Linked DNA regions of Homo sapiens: region 2 is linked to region 1. The links are contacts of gene promoters, found by promoter capture Hi-C in human tissues and cell types (Jung and others, 2019). All regions are on one chromosome and are shown on one strand. The core of a region is centred on a gene start or on the middle of the fragment in contact, and the rest is flanking DNA. Distances in the headings are between cores, read along the strand shown.

What was found. The method cuts DNA at HindIII sites, captures the fragments that hold promoters and counts their contacts. A contact is called where the count stands out against the background at its distance.
Region 2: the fragment with the promoter of ZNF709 here is called in contact with the fragment with the promoter of EPOR in region 1 in 1 of the 25 tissues and cell types used here (stomach).

Annotation. Positions count from the first base shown.
Region 1 is chr19:11,382,514-11,385,873 of GRCh38, forward strand. EPOR (erythropoietin receptor) reads right to left here and starts at 1,801. Exons shown (of 8, transcript NM_000121.4): 1 at 1,580-1,801; 2 at 584-719. The coding sequence starts at 1,694. RefSeq lists a silencer at 1,041-1,100. The HindIII fragment of the contact is 19,405 bases long and covers 1-3,360 here.
Region 2 is chr19:12,483,390-12,486,325 of GRCh38, forward strand. It overlaps ZNF709 (zinc finger protein 709), which reads right to left and starts at 1,427. Exons shown (of 4, transcript NM_152601.4): 1 at 1,266-1,427. The coding sequence starts at 1,268. The HindIII fragment of the contact is 14,294 bases long and covers 1-2,936 here.

The DNA.
Region 1 (3,360 bases), core at 551-3,050:
CCACCACGCCCGGCTAATTTTGTATTTTTAGTAGAGATAGAGTTTCTCCATGTTGGCCAGGCTGGTCTCAAACTCCCGACCTCAGGTGATCCGCCCGCCTCAGCCTCCCAAAGTGCTGGGATTACAGGCGTGAGCCACCGCGCCCAGTCTAATTTTTTTTTAAGAGACGGGGATCTCGCTGTGTTGCCCAGGCTGGTCTTGAACTCCTGGGCTCAAGCGGTTCTTCCGCCTCGACCTTCCAAAGAGTTGGGATTACAGGCATGAGCCACTGCTGGCCTCCTTTTGGATACTACCTCGAGAAGGCGTCCCAGCCCCGACGTAGTAACGCCTTACCCTCGATTTGGAGGCGTTGTTATCCCAGCCTGATGTTTGGGGTCGCGTTCCAGCGGTGATCGCGGGAGTGTTCGCGCCCCGGCCCATAGAGGGCGTGCCAGCCCTGGACCCGCAGGTTTCCCTCCAGTGACCACGACTGGAGGCGCCGTCGGGCCTCAAACAGCAGGGGACATACGAGGCTACGACCTCCAGGGAGCTCTGCCCCACCCCCTCCCTCCGCCCTTGGAGGCACCCGCCGGATCGGACTCACTCGAGCTGGTAGGAGAAGCTGTAGTTGCCCGGGCCCACCCCAGCGCTCGCCGCTTCCTCCCAGAAACACACCAAGTCCTCCAACCGCTCGGTGAAGCACAGAAGCTCTTCGGGCCCCCGGGCCGCCAGCAAGGCCGCTGGGGAGGGGCGACAAAGGAAGGGCATGGGGGTCTGAGCTCTATCCTCGGGAGACAGCCCCCTCCTCTTCCCTCCCGCAGCCTGGGCGGACCCGATAAGAAAAAAGCCCCGCCCTGCCATCTTCCCAAGCGGGTCCCTTGGAGGGGTCCGCAGAGGTGGTGCCCCCCTAATTCCCAGGGGCAAGTTTCTCGCCTTACTGTCCCCCGCCGTCACCACTGGCGCACACCTGCCCACCCAGCGGCCAGCTGAGCTGGGCGCGGCGTTCAAGACCTCGAGCTCGGGACTGCCAGCCCCGCCCCAGCCTAGGACACGCGCGCGGCTGGGGGTGTGTGCGGAGAGGCGGGCCCCCTATCGGCCCCGGCAGGCTCCCCGCCAACCGATAGCGCCAACCGTGCCCCCCGCCTCCCTCCCTCCACCGGGCCGGGCAAGTGATCTGGCGCCCTCACACAAACCGTGTTTACAGTAGCCTGTGGCTTGGCCCCTCTAACTCGGACCCGGGCTTTACCCTCCCTCCCCTAGGGAGGGTCGGCTTGGTCCCCACCCCCCAGGGACCTTAGCACCAAGTCAGCCCCCTTAGGATTTAGCATGTCCCAGACTCCCTGAAAAGGTAAAACGGGAATGTTAAGCCCACTCTAGCTCTTGCCCGGGACGCGATCAGGAGTCTTGGATCCTAACATACCCCACCCCGCCCCCCACCCATCCAGGACCCAGTCTAAGGGTTCAGATGCCAGCTTGGCCCCCAGGACCCGGTCAGGAAGTCCAGAAACAGGCATGGCCCCCAGGACCTAGGCTGGGAGTTCAGGCCCCAGCATGGTCCTGCAGGCTCCAGCGTAGGGGTCCACACGCAGCTCATCCTTACCTTTGCTCTCGAACTTGGGGTCCGGGAGGTTAGGCGGGGGCGCCCAGGCGGCCCCAGCGAGCAGGAGACAAAGGGAGCCGACCTGGGGCCAGAGGGACGCCCCGAGGTGGTCCATGATACAGCCCCCGCCACGGGGAGCCCAGGGCTCCTGCCCCTCCGTCCCCCGCCCCCGGCACAGTCCACAGCTGGGTCAGCAGCTGCCTCCGCCGGACGCAGCTGACCAGGCCCTTCCCGACCAGGCGCCTCTAAGTGGCAGATCCCCGAGGGGGCGGGGCCAGCACTCAGCCTGGGTAGAGATAAGTGCCTGGCGGGAGGAGGCAGGGGCCCTTCCCGAGCCCAGAGGCCGCTTGGGGGCAGGGGAGGGAGTTGGGCCGCAACAGCTCCCGTTCTGGCTTCAGACACACGTTTTTTTTTTCTTTGTGGCCCTGGACAGGTGACTTACCTTACCTGAGCTTCAGACTTCTCATCTGTAAAATCTAGCCTGGCACATAGCGAACATTCCAAAAAATGTACCTACTGATTTTATCGCAGAAATCAGCATCTCTTCCCAGCCTGGAAATAAATAAAAATTATTTTCTCTCTCTCTCTCTCTCTCTCTCTCTCTCTCTCTCCTTTCCTTCCTTCCTTCCTTCCTTCCTTCCTTCCTTCCTTCCTTCCTTCCTTCCCTCCTTCCCTCCTTCCCCCTCTCTCTCTCTGTCTCAGGGTGTTGCTCTGTCACCCAGGCTGGAGTGCAGTGGCACAATCATAGCTCACTGCAGCCTCTGGACTGAAGCAATCTTCCCACTGCACCTGGCTAATTTTTAAAATTCTTTGTAGAGATGGGATCCCACTATGTTGTCCAGGCTGGTCTTGAAATCCCGGACTTAAGCAATCCTCCAGCCTCCATCTCCCAATGTGCTGGGAATACCAGCACGAGCCACTGAAGCCGGCCAATAATAATCCTTGCAACGACCAGCAGTTGAGTGTTTGCACAGTGCTAGGCCATGCTCCTGGGCAGTATGCATAATATGTGAGATTTTCATTTACGAATTTTTGGGAAAAAAATTTTTACCACCCACATTTTTATTCTCTTGGGCTGGGCCCGGTGGCTCACGCCTATAATCCCAGCACTTTGGGAGGCCGACGTGGGCAAATCACTTGAGGTCAGGAGTTTGAGACCAGCCTGGCCAACATGGTGAAATCCCATCTCTACTAAAAATACAAAAATTAGCCAGGTGTGGTGGCGTGTGCCTGTAATCCCAGCTACTCAGGAGGCTGAGGCATGAGAACTGCTTCAGTCTGGGAGATGAAGATTGCAGTGAGCCAAGATCATGCCACTGCAACTCCAGCCTGGGCAACAGAGTGAGACTGCATCTCAAAAAATAATAATAATTGGCTGGGCGCGGTGGCTCATACCTGTAATCCCAACACTTTGGGAGGCCGAGACAGGCGGATCATGAGGTCAGGAGTTCGAGACCAGCCTGGGCAACATGGCGAAACCACGTCTCTACTAAAAATACAAAAATTAGCCAGGCGTAGGCCGGGCGCGGTGGCTCACGCCTGTAATCCCAGCACTTTGGGAGGCCGAGGTGGGCAGATCACGAGGTCAAGAGATCAAGACCATCCTGGCCAACATGGTAAAACCCCATCTCTACCAAAAATACAAAAATTAGATGGGCGTGGTGCTGCATGCCTGTAATCCCAGCTACTTGGGAGGCTGCAGGAGAATCGCTTGAACCCAGGAGCCGGAGGTTTCAGTGAGCCGATATTGTGCCACTGCACTCCAGCCTGGTGACAGAGCG
Region 2 (2,936 bases), core at 177-2,676, 1.1 Mb after region 1:
GCGATCCTCCTGACTCAGCCTCCCAAAGTGCTGAGATTACAGGCGTGAGCCAACGCTCCTAGCTTGATATTTTATTATTTTCTGAAACCCATCTCTTTCTTGCCTCTTTGGAAATATTTTACATCCACTCTAAAGGTTTATTTTATTTTATTTTTTTATTTTTTTGAGACAGAGTCTCACTCTGTCGCCGAGGCTGTAGTGCAGTGGCGCAATCTCATCTCAACTGCAACCTCTGCCTCCCGGGTTCAAGTGATTCTCCTGCCTCAGCCTCCTGAGTAGCCGTGATTACAGATGTGCACCACCACGCCCGGCTAATTTTTTATATTTTTAGTAGAGACGGGGTTTCGCCATGTTGGCTGGGCTGTAGGTCTCCTAATTACGTATATTTTACATTTTTTGAGAATCAATTAAGTGAGTAAATCTTTTCAAGGTGATAAGCCCAGGGAGGGGAAGTGCTGCGCTGGAAAGGACAGATCTCCCAGAAAAGTTTCCAAAAAGGAGACTCAACCCAAAGGAGTTCCCATAGGATGTCAGGTCCCAGGAGAGATACTGGCAAGAGAGGCACAAGCATTTTACACGAGGTAGCTTCAAGTCCTTCTCCTCTGTTTTCCTCTCATATAAATACCCCAAAGCATACGTTAAATCTTTTTAAAAGAACCATCCATTCCTCTGTACAAAAAGGATAATTAAAATACTGCGTCTGGTTGAAATAACGACGTTGTGAACTGGAGAGAAGACATTGGCATTTGAAAGAGATCTAGAAATTTAGGGATTTAATCCCAGCTCTGGGAAGAGCCAGGCTGGAGGACACGGTCGTGGGTTTGAGATCTGGCTTCCCATACACTTGGAAACCTTGAGAAACGAGTCCTCCCTTGGGAAGAAAAGAGGGACTGAGGACCCCACACAACACTGCTCCTCCCACGCACGAACCCCACGACCGAGACGGGATTCCCTCCATGACCCTCCCGTGCCCCAGCACAATCTGGGGAGACGCGAGGCTGCGGGCTCGGAGCTGCCCAGAGAGGGCTCCGGGACTGGGGCCGCAGTCGCCGCGCAGGGACTTGACAAGACGTCCGGGGTCCCGGCTGCCGGCCCAGCCCCATCCTGCGGCCAAAGAGACCGAGGGCCGAGCTGCGCCAGGAGGACTCGGGTCCACAGACCCGGGAGACAACGGCGGGGAGGCCTGGGTCCCACCACAGCCAGATCCGGCCGGTTTCAACCCGCCCCTCTCTCCCATCTCAAGACCCCCAGCCCCGCACACTTACCATTTCCCAGACTCTGGGATGTCCTGGTGTTCTGTTTACCTCTCCCGCGGCCAGCACAGGTCCTACCTCCACCTGAGGCCCTTCCTCCACCTGAGGGCCTTCTGGGGTGAGGAGACCCCAGAGCGGAGCGCAGCGGCTGGTAGCCACGCCCTCGCCGTTTGCGCAGCGCCCCTCCGCCCGCCTTCCCGGCGGCGCCCCTGATTGGACATTGCACTCTTGGACCCGCCTTCGTTGCCTGAGTGACAGCTAGTAGGGAAGTCGCGTCTCTAAGCAACCTGCATTCGTCCGGGGTCAGGAATCTGTTCCCCTGCCACGGATATTTGCGTCTAAGCAGAATTTGTTAACGTACCCGGGGTCGGGCACTGGTGTCTTCCTGCAGCTCCTTCTGAGCGCGGAGACACAAGCGTGCACAGCGCAGGAAATTCCAGGCTCAGTTTCCAGAAAAAGGCTCTTTGTCCACAGCGAAAAAGGACGCCCGGGCCATGCCAGACTAGAACGGAAGGGTCAGACGCTCCCAGACTTAGCATAAGGCTGCGAGGCCATTCATGGATTTCTGACTCTTGTTTACAAATACAGACACTTAGAGTGACAGAGTGACCTCATCATACCTAACAAAGAGTGACTACGTTTTAATCTTTGACAACTGACAGGGTTTAGGCCGTCACCCATCCCTTCCCTCCCCCCACACTTTGCTCTAGTGGGAAGTTTGGACCCCACAGCCCTAGTCTGAGAGAAGGAGTTCCTTTTTTTTTTTTTTTCGGTAGAGATGGCGGTGGTGGGGTGGTCTCACTATGTTGCACAGGCTAGTCTCGAACTCCTGGGCTCAGGTGATGCTCCTTGGCTTCCCAAAGTGTTGGGATTACAGGCATGAACCACCGTGCCCAGTGAGGAATTATTCAGTTAAACCCAAAGCCATGAGATGTGTTCAGTAAAACTGAACACTGGAAGGATATTTATTTCGGACCAGTTTTTGACTATGTCCCTAGAGAACTTTTGTGGATCCTTTATGTTTGTTTGGTTTGTGGTTTTTGTTTTTGAGACAGGGCCCTTCTTTGTCCCTCAGGCTGGAATGCAGTGGTGCAATCAGAGCCCCCTGCAGCCTCGACCTTCTGGGCTCAAGCAATCCTCCCACCTCAGCCACCTGAGTAGCTGGAACCTCAGGCACGTGCCACCATGCTTGACTAATTTCTTTCTTTCTTTTTATTTTTATTTTGTAGAAACAGCATCTCACTATCTCACCCAGGCTGATCTTGAACTCCTGGGCTCAAGTGATCTGCTGGCCTCAGCCTCCCAAAGTGTTAGGATTACAGGCATGAGCCACTGCACCCAGCCCCTAGAGAATTTTGAAATGTAAATGGCTATGATATCGATAAGGCAATTAATTCCATTTTCACTGAGATTATTTAAAAAACCACAAAAGATTATGTAAATTTGGCATGTACTAGGAAACTCAATATACTTAAGATATTGGATCAAACCTACTAATGGGCAGGGCATGATGGCTCACACCTGTAGTTCCAGCACTTTAGGAAACTTAGGTGGGAGGGCTGCTTGAGCCCAGGAGTTTGAGATCAGCCTGGGCAACATAGTGAGGCCCCCCCCTCCCCCATCTCTAAGAAAATTTTTTAAAAATTAGCAGGGCATGGTGGTGCACACCTGTAGTCCCAGCTA